2 separate regions of the Homo sapiens genome follow, and region 2 is linked to region 1. Evidence: promoter capture Hi-C in human tissues and cell types (Jung and others, 2019). All regions are on one chromosome and are shown on one strand. The core of a region is centred on a gene start or on the middle of the fragment in contact, and the rest is flanking DNA. Distances in the headings are between cores, read along the strand shown. Region 1 holds the start of KIF21A (kinesin family member 21A). Region 2 overlaps ALG10B (ALG10 alpha-1,2-glucosyltransferase B).

Region 1 (5,093 bases), core at 1,590-4,089:
CCTCTCACTTCCGCAGGGTTAATGGTTAAGAACTTGGGCTACTGAGTCAAGCTATCTGGGTTGGAACCCTGGCTCTCTCATTTGTTACCAATTTAACTTTGGATGGTTTACTTAATCTTTCTGTGCCTCATCTGTAAATGGCCATAATAACAGGACCTAAGTCACAGATTGTTATGAGGAATAAATAAGACTTTACATGAGATAAAACATCTTAACACAGCACTAATCCCGGCACACAGTATAAGTCAAACAATTATCACTACTTTTAGCCCAGAAATCAGGATAACAGAGACGGGTATATATCTTCAATAAATAATGGTTATAAATGAACAATATAAGTCCAAACACTTTATAAATACTAAAGTGCTATATGAGTATAAGCTATTTTTATCCTATATAAAGTAAGTTTACAAGGTAGCTCTGTTCAGAGAACAATGTATTTAATGAAAGAAATCCCCGATTTATCCAGGCGCAGTGGCTAATGCCTGTAATCCCAGCAATTTGGGAGGGACGGCTTGAGCCCAGGAGTACAAGACCACTCTGGGAAACATAGGGAGGCCCCATATCTACAAAAATGTATAAAAATTAGCCAAGCAGTGTGGCACATGCCTGTGATCTCAGCTACTCAGCAGGCTGAGATTAGAGGATTGCTTGAGCCCATGAGGTTGAGGCTGCAGTGAGCTATGATGGCACCACGACACTCTAGCCTGGGTGACACAGCAAAACCCTATCTCAAAAAAAAGAAAGAAGAAAGGAAAGAAGAGAGAAAGAGAAAGGAAAGAAGGAAGGAAGGAAGGAATCCTGAATTCAACAAATTGAATCTTTACAATATGGCTTACTAAGTTATGTTGAAGTTTTTATAAAGCCTTTCCCCAAAAATCAAACCCACATTCATTCACCTAAAAAGTCCTAACATACACACCAAAACAAAATACAAGTTATTTATCAGTCAGCATCACTTTAGGGTCATCCATGGCTCTACAGGCAAAGAAGCATCGGATTTAACAGAATGGTCAACAAACTGCCTTGTGATAGTCTAGAGAATTCACATATAAAAATCTCAAACGTCTAAAAACAGACAAATTGTCTGTTTTCAGTAATATTTTATGCACCTTCTTCACTTTCCTTGATCAGATCTCCTAACAAAATTGCCTCTTATTGGGTTTTCTGTCTTTTTCCTTCCCCTTTCTCCACCCTGGTGCAGTCATTAACTGGTATTAAAGGGCCAAAAGAGAGGTAGTAGCAGTGAATAGGAGAAACAGACTAATCTAACAATTGGATAAGTAGCCCTAGAATAACGAAGAAGGCCTAATTAAAACTTCAAAAGCCTTATAACAGGTGATTCTAACCAGTCATAAAACTGTCACCTCCCTGGGTGGTAAAAAAAAAAAAAAAAAAAACACTTAAAAACTCATTTTATTATTTAAGTTAATTAAAGATACAAAGTATACGAAACAGCCATTACTATGCCTGACCCAAGATGTGTCACTAAAATAGTAACTATAGAAATGTTTAGAGGGGAGAATTTTTAGAATAATTTTCTGGAAAGACTACAAGACTGGGAGATTGTTAATAGTTCCTAATTCCTTGGAGTGTAGATTATTTTTATAATCCTTAAAGCATAAATAAGGAGAAGTGAATTAACAGTAGACTCTCAGAGCTGTGAAAGCCACGCACTTACTCTAGGATGAATGCTTCATTAATTTTTCACACAGTGTGATGATGTTGCAATTTTCCATGAGCAACTATCAGAGCTTTCCTTCTTGATAAGTATCAAAACAGCCGAAATTACATCGAATACTCGTGCCTGTCATTGGCCGAAATATAATTTCAATACTAGGATGTACCTAGTATTTCCAGACTCACACCCTGGCCTGGGTAACGTTACGATTACATTGTATCCACCCTGCCTAATGTCAGTATGTTTCACACAGTCACCCATTTCACCCTTCCTCTGGCTAAAGAGTTTTCCTCCTTCTGTAGACCTCTCCCCAGTGGATTTTACCTTAAATTCCACTCCCATTCCAACACCCAAGAGGCTAGATCTGTCTCCTCTACCCACACGCGGGGGCATGTCTAGATCCCCGTGATGCTGAAAAAGATGTCTCATTTGCACAGACATCAGAACCCGAGTGGGCGCGCGGCGGGCCCTGCGGTCGCCGGCGCTGATAGTCAGATGCTTTGTCTCCTGCCTGGGAAGGCCGGAGCTGCATGGACACGTATGACAGACATTCTAGAACTAATAAAAAAGAACACCACAGCCCCGCGCACAGGCAGCTCCTCCCGGACAGGCGATAGCCCAAGGCGGCCAGACCTGAGGTGACTGATCCCGCGAGGGGACGGAGGGGAGTGACGAGGGCTTTTCCCCCAGAGAAGTCAAGACGCCCCCCAGGGACCCGGCGCCGCGCAGCCGCCAGCCACCTGCAAACACAGACGGCGTGAGGGCGGCGCAGTCGCCCTGCCAGCACCCGGCCGCGCGTGCCAGGCCAGCGGGGACTCACTGCCTCAGTTTCCTCAGCCGCAGAACCCGGCCGGGACGCCCCTCAGGTCGCTCCACCCCGGTAGCCGGTGCTCCGCGCCACAGCCAGGTCCTTGCCGCGCCCTCAACCCGCCGCCCGCCGCCCGCCGCCGGCAGACTGTCCTCACCTGACAGCCACCCGCACGGAGCTCTCGTCCGGGGCGCCCAACATGCTGGCGGCGGGCAGCGATCGAGCCGTTGGGCCTCGGCACCGCAGAGCTGAGGCGCCACTGGGGCCGCGGGACTCGGGCGCAGTAGGCTGGGGCGTCTGCGGGCGGGCGGCCGGCTCACCTCCGCCGCGCTCCAGCCATGTTGGGCGACTGAATGGAAAGGTGGCGGCGGCGCTGAGGCAGCAAGAGGAGGAGGTGATTCACGGCTCGCGGGCGCCCGCCCCTTCTCCACCGCTCACCCCCCAGGATCTGGGGCGGGGACAAAGCGCGCTTGAACGGCGAGCGCGCCTGTGGAGAAGCCAACAGGCCGCCAGCGGCCTCAGGGCGGCCGGGTGAGTGCGCCCTGCCCCCTCCGGTGGGGACGCGGCCTCCCAGCGGCCAGGCTGGGGACTCCACGCCCGCCAGGGCGCTCCGGGCTCCTCGCCCCGCACTGCGTCAGCCGCCGCCGCGCGGCTCAGCCCCACCTCGCCCTCCCCCAGCCTGCGCCCCGCCCTGCCCTCGTCGGGACACTGCCTGGCGCTGCTGGGCAGGGAGGCGAGGGGGAGGGATGCCTGCCGCCGGCTGCCCTCGCCCGAGGGCGACCAGCCTGTGCGCCCTTCCAGGCTCTTCTGGGAGAAGGAAGCAGCTAGTGCACGCGCTGCTGCCAGGTCCCTTCTCAAATCGAAGCTTGATTCAGCGGCGCGCCGGGAGCCAGGCAGCTGCTGCTGCGGTTCGGCTTTGTGTCCCACGCATAGCCTTATTGTCCTCTCTGCAGCTTGGACTTTGACCCCCTTCCCTAGCCCCCAGCTGAACGCCCTCCCTCCTCCCTCCCCGGAGTCAGTCATTCATGCTAAACGGACTCCCAGGTTTGTCCACTGTCTCTGGACAGCTGGGCTGTTCTACAGTTCATCGCCCGTTTACCAGCTCGGGTGGGATATGGAAATGATTTATTCGAGACTCCTGAATGCTTTTCTGTTCAATCATTTGTACACTGGTAAATGAACTGCACCCTGGTACTGCCAAGTGTTCCCAGAACTGAATATATCCACCAAGACCTGCTGTGTAGTAAATCCTTCCAAACTGATTTTCTTTCCCTTCTGGCCTTTAAAAAGCACCTCCCAATCCCAGGATTCTCTCAACATTGACCCATTGTGGTTTCTGTTTGTCACTATTGTGCTTCCACATGCCTTCAGATAGCTCTGTGGAAACAGCCTTTATTAGCTTTGCCACAGAGTATCTTTTGTGGACTGCTCCATACATCTCTATAAACAAACATGTGGCTTCATACGAAATAGTATCACAAATTAAATGGCACTATCCAAATAAAGGCACTACCTCAAATGCCTGCAATCTACAATCACATACCTAATCATCTTGTTCAGCAGTGATACAGCAGTGTGGCTCAGAGAAGGCTGCAACACTATGGGAAAAACAAGAAGTGTTTGATGATTTAAACCCATGGGAAGGCCGATGGGGTATATAATTATAGATAGTTTTAAATTTATTCTGTCCCTTAATCTCACTACCCCTAAATCTTAACAGACATGTAACTGGGAGGTAAAGAGGGCAGAGATGCTGAGTATCCTTCTATAGATCAAATTGGTGGGAAAGCTCTCCTCTGGCTACTCTTTGGAGGGCCTTTCCTAGCCTCAAAATTTATCCATCAACAAATCAGAGCTGCATTTCACCCTGCCCTGGCAAGCCCATATCTGGGTGGATCTGGGCTGGCCACCTTGCTTCTTTTGTTGATGAAAGCTGCAAGGAAAGCAAGAATGGCCCAGCACATTTAACAAGAAAACTAAAGAGAAATTTGTATAATTAAGACCCTCTTTTTAAAAAAAGTTCTTTTTTATTTTATTTTATTTTGAGACAAAGTCTTGCTCTGTCACCAGGCTGGAGTGCAGTGGCGTGATCTCGGCTCACTGTAACCTCTGCCTCCCGGGTTCAAGCGATTCTTCTGCCTCAGCCTCCTGAGTAGCTGGGACTACAGGCGTGTGCCACCATGCCCAGCTAATTTTTGTATTTTTAGTAGAGACAGAGTTTCACCGTATTGGCCAGGCTGGTCTTGAACTCCTGACCTTGTGATCCACCCGCCTCGGCCTCCCAAAGTGCTGGGATTACAGGCATGAGCCACCACACCCAGCCTATTTTATTTTTTGAGACAGTGTCTCGCTCTGTCATCCAGGCTGGAATGCAATGGTGTGATCTCAGCTCACTGCGACATCGACATCCTCCTCCGGGGTTCAAGGGATTCTCGTGCCTCAGCCTCCGGAGTAGCTGGGATTTCAGGCATGTGCCAACACATCCAGGTAATTTTTGTATTTTTAGTAGAGATGGGATTTCACCATGTTTACCAGGCTGGTCTCAAACTCCTGACCTCAAGTGATCCGCCCACCTCAGCCTCCCAAAGTGCTGGGATTACAGGC
Region 2 (5,340 bases), core at 2,117-4,616, 1.1 Mb before region 1:
ACCTTAATTTTAATCAAGGAAATGACATGGTCTGATTTAGTGATTTAGATTAAGTGGAGTATACAATTCAAGAACATAAGAACACTTTCAAATTCTGAAATAGCATGTCAGAAAGGCCAAAATAAGATATATAAGTTTAGACTGGCTCACTTTTCAGAAAAATACCGTTATTTCATCATGAAAATATCATCTTGAAAAAGTAAGTCTGGATATGGTAAAATAAATACCATATGCATGTTTACATTCTCCCTTGTGTAGTGTTATGAAGGATTTCCTTAAAGGAAAGTGGTGATTATGGCTAAGTGAATCCTTATTGAAGGCACTAAAACATAAGCTCAGGGAAATGGAGCCAGCATTGTGTCCTATTTATCTCCATAGTCCCCACAGAACTTAGTCGGTATCTTGCACTCAGTAACTCCTTAACTAATCATAGCCTGATTCAAATTGTGTTAAGCTATAGAAGCTTTGGCATACACACGGTCTCCAAACTGATAGGTATAAATAAAAAGTACCAGGAAGTGTTCTTATAAATGTTTATTGTGTTTTTGCAAAGCCAGAGATAAGATTAATATTGATTAATTTTATTTAAATAAGGTTTGAGTAGTTGAGTAGTTTTAAATAAATCTCTTCATTAGGTAAGCAGAAATAGCATTTATCATTAAAATAATTGTATCTGTGTTTTTTCTTCCTCCAAGGCTGCCTCAAGTATCCAGAGAGTCTTGTCAACATTAACACTAGCAGTATTTCCAACACTTTATTTTTTTAACTTCCTTTATTATACAGAAGCAGGATCTATGTTTTTTACTCTTTTTGCATATTTGATGTGTCTTTATGGAAATCATAAAACTTCAGCCTTCCTTGGATTTTGTGGCTTCATGTTTCGGCAAACAAATATCATCTGGGCTGTCTTCTGTGCAGGGAATGTCATTGCACAAAAGTTAACTGAGGCTTGGAAAACTGAGCTACAAAAGAAGGAAGACAGACTTCCACCTATTAAAGGACCATTTGCAGAATTCAGAAAAATTCTTCAGTTTCTTTTGGCTTATTCCATGTCCTTTAAAAACTTGAGTATGCTTTTCTGTTTGACTTGGCCCTACATCCTTCTGGGATTTCTGTTTTGTGCTTTTGTAGTAGTTAATGGTGGAATTGTTATTGGCGATCGGAGTAGTCATGAAGCCTGTCTTCATTTTCCTCAACTATTCTACTTTTTTTCATTTACTCTCTTTTTTTCTTTTCCTCATCTCCTGTCTCCTAGCAAAATTAAGACTTTTCTTTCCTTAGTTTGGAAACATGGAATTCTGTTTTTGGTGGTTACCTTAGTCTCTGTGTTTTTAGTTTGGAAATTCACTTATGCTCATAAATACTTGCTAGCAGACAATAGACATTATACTTTCTATGTGTGGAAAAGAGTTTTTCAAAGATATGCAATTCTGAAATATTTGTTAGTTCCAGCCTATATATTTGCTGGTTGGAGTATAGCTGACTCATTGAAATCAAAGCCAATTTTTTGGAATTTAATGTTTTTCATATGCTTGTTCATTGTTATAGTTCCTCAGAAACTGCTGGAATTTCGTTACTTCATTTTACCTTATGTCATTTATAGGCTTAACATAACTCTGCCTCCCACATCCAGACTTGTTTGTGAACTGAGTTGCTATGCAATTGTTAATTTCATAACTTTTTACATCTTTCTGAACAAGACTTTTCAGTGGCCAAATAGTCAGGACATTCAAAGGTTTATGTGGTAATATCAGTGATATTTTGAACTGTAAAAATGGACTTAATAATTAGACCATTTCTACAAAGAACAACTGAATAGGTGGAAAACATGGAATTTCTTTTAGGTGCAGTGGTGGTCCTCAAATTACATTAGTTTTTTTAATATATATTTTAAACATATGTAAGAAATTAAGTGGCAAAGAACTGGGAAAGCTTAAGACCTGCTTCAAAAGCCTGAATAATGGGAAAATAAAATTGTTTTCAGATATCTCATATCGCTCTCGTAATGTTGGCCCCTCACAAAGCTTGGGAATGTTTTGTATGTATAAGTTTATTAAAACTGGGTATGCTTCATATTACTAGAACTAATTTATTCTCTTCAGAGAGAACTATTAGGTTAGTGCAAAAGTAATTGTGGTTTTTGCCATTGAAAGTAATGGCAAAACCACAATTACTTTTGTACCAACCTAATAACAATGTGTTAGCAAATATTTACAAATGGTCAGGTGATATTCTTGACTGAAAAGTTCCTTAACATTTCAGTAAATATAATTTTAATTCTAAGTCAAAATAGAAATGCATAGATAGTAAATGATAAAGTAGAGACTCATATATGTCTGTCTAGGCATCAAATTGTTGGTTATTGTTTACAATCCAGAAATGATGAAGCTCTTTCACTAATTCCTAATATGAAATGTATGATGGCCAAAGACAAATTGTGTTGATTATAATCCTTTAAAAGGGGGATTTCCTTTATGAAATACATATTGTATTAGCTTCCCAGGGCTGCCATAACAAATGACCACAAACTTGGGTGCTTACAACAATTTTCCTCACAGTCTGGAGGCCAGAAGTCTAAAATCAAAGTGTCAGCAGAGTTGGTTCCTTCTGGAGGCTCTAAGGAAGAATCCATTCTATGTCTGTTTCCTAATATCTTGTGGCTGTCTGCAATTCTTGGAGTTCTTTGGCTTATGGGCATATCTTGTCTAAGTATTGCAGACAGCAATCTTCACTCCAGTCTCTGCCTCTGCGTTCACACGGCCTTTCCCTCTGTCTTTTCATTACCTTTTAAGGACAGTGTCTTTGAATGTAGGGCCCACCCTGATCTAGGGTGATTGTGTCTGGAGACCCTTAATTATGTTTACAAAGACCCATGTTCCAAGTAAGTTTGTATTCACATGTTCTGAGTAGACATTGTCTCTTCATGGGATACTTTTCAGTCCATGACAGTTACTAAAGGACATTTTAGGATAATCCTCATATGATTGTTAGGAGACTACCTTTAAAAATTTTTTATTATATATCAAATTATAGTTGTATATACTTATGAGGTACGAAGTGGCATTATGATTTTTGAATATAATGTGGGATGATTAAATAAAGCTAATCTATCCATCACCTCAAATATTTGACATATTTTGTGATGAAAACATTTGAAATGTACTCTCAACAGTATTGAAATGTACATACAGTGCTTAATTATTAGCTGTATTCACCATGTTGTGTAATAGATCTAAAAAAAGTCAAACATATTCCTTCTATCTAATTGAGGCTTTGTATCTTTTGATTGTCATCTCCCTATTCCCACATCCCCGGCCTCTAGCAACCATCATTCTTCTCTCTACTTCTGTGAGTTTAATTGTTTTAGATTACACAAATAAGTGAGATCATGTGGTATTTGTCTTTCTGTGCTTGGCTTATTTCACTTACCATAATGTCCTCCACGATCATCCATATTGTTGCAAATGACACAATTTCTTCCTTTTTAAAGGCTGAATAGTATTTTTTTGTATATATATGCCACATTTTCTTTATCCATTCATCCATGGATGGACACTTAGGTTGATCGAATCACTTGGTTATTGTGACTTGTCTGCAATGAACATAGAGTGCAGACTTCTCTTTGACATACGGATTTCAAATCTTCTGGATAAATAGCCAGAAGTGGGATTGTTGGATCAGGAGATAATATCTTAGCTGATACCTTTTAAATAACTCTCAGTATCTTTACTGAGAGGTTAAAAAATAAGTGACTTCTTAGGTAATATAAAGCTAAAGGTGACTAGTGTTTGATTCCATTATCTATTAAAAAAAGTCAGAATTGAAAGAAAGTTGAGAAATCCTTTGGTCTGACTTTGTAGATTAGGGAACAACTGCTGGGGTAGGATTATTTTGTGTTACTTTTTGAATTTTGTGTTTATTATTTTGAGTGTATTTTTTGGGTTGTCATTCCATTACAGGAAAGTATTATTTGGGCATGTTAACTTTGACATGTAAACTTAGAATTGTGAATAGAACTCATCTTTTAACATAATTTTATGTTTCTAAACTTTAAAAGTAGCTATAAGTGAACAAATTACTTTCCCCTCAATGTCAAATTTTGCTTCTCTGAGTTTTAAGTGATGAGTCTACATTTACAAATATAAAATTGTGTGCAGGTGAAAATTACAAGTATAATTTGAGTAATAAATGCAGGCCATTTTTTGGTTGTACTCTAGTACTCAGAAAATAGATCGGCATTAGTTATAACAGTGATTGTAGAAAAACGTGTTTTACCCAGACTTCTTAAAAATTAGATGAGAGAGGACACTCAAAGAAATTATACTTTTGTCATTAATTTACTATAGTGGAGAACTAAATCTGGGAAGTCAAAATTGAAAAAAGAATGTGTAATTTAGGGAAAGTAACTTTTTGTCTGATAATATTAATGCAAGGATTTTGTATTTAGGAATACTTCTGAGAGGAGAAGCTTCCACTCTGATCTAGTCTGGCAAAATTGAGGAAAATATTCTACCCTGTAATTAAAGAAGACTGCTCTTTGGAGGGATCACTGTTCTATATCTTTTTTTGTTTGTTTTTGTCTTTGAGGAGAAGTCTCGCTCTTGTCCCCCAGGCTGGAATGCAATGGCGCGATCTTGGCTCACTGAAACCTCCACCTCCTGGGTTCAAGCAGTTCTCCTGCCTCAGCCTCCCGAGTAGCTGAGATTATAGGCGCCCACCACCAAGCCTGGCTAATTTTTTCTATTTTTAGTAGAGCCGGGGTTTCACCGTGTTAGCCAGGCTGGTCTCGAACTCCTGACCTCAGGTAATCCACCTGCCTCGCCTCCCAAAGTGCTGGGATTACAGGCGTGAGCCACTGTGCCCAGCTCTTCTAGTTCATTTTTAAGTGTTGAGTCCCTGCTGTTTAAGAGATGTTTTGGTGAAAATCTACATTCAGAGAGAAACAGGTTAATCTTCCACATTTTTTATAAAATACATAAAATATAGTACTTGGCATTTTAAGAAAAGAATGCCATGTATTAAAAGGTGCTATTTTCAACTATTTATTATTTTAAAACAGGAATGCTTATCAATACTTTCGAATTTAAGATAAATGTCTTCGTTAAATTTTCTAGGCAGTTCAAAGATGGCCATTTGCTGGTGAATTTTCCAAAATAGATAACAGATAAAATGATTATGTAAGAACTTGGCACAACAGATCATTTTGCCTTTAGTCGTTCAAGAAATGATACTAAACTCAAAGTCATTCACTTGAAACAACTGAGAAGACCATTCTTAGGTGTTTAGATCCTTGCTTTTAGAAACATTCTTAGTTATATTTGTGTTTTCAAAAGTTATTGA

Evidence for each region. Contacts are between HindIII fragments. The study calls those that stand out against the background at their distance.
Region 2: a fragment that was not itself captured here is called in contact with the fragment with the promoter of KIF21A in region 1 in 1 of the 25 tissues and cell types used here (lymphoblastoid cells).

The regions. Positions count from the first base shown.
Region 1 is chr12:39,440,281-39,445,373 of GRCh38, forward strand. KIF21A (kinesin family member 21A) reads right to left here and starts at 2,840. Exons shown (of 38, transcript NM_001173464.2): 1 at 2,647-2,840. The coding sequence starts at 2,690. RefSeq lists enhancers at 1,781-1,850, 2,669-3,169, 3,451-3,510 and a silencer at 2,471-3,370. The HindIII fragment of the contact is 12,215 bases long and covers 1-5,093 here.
Region 2 is chr12:38,319,466-38,324,805 of GRCh38, forward strand. It overlaps ALG10B (ALG10 alpha-1,2-glucosyltransferase B), which reads left to right. Exons shown (of 3, transcript NM_001013620.4): 3 at 696-5,340. The coding sequence ends at 1,748. Among named protein-coding and RNA genes, the nearest start is that of ALG10B, 5.4 kb to the left of the region's middle. The HindIII fragment of the contact is 4,339 bases long and covers 1,198-5,340 here.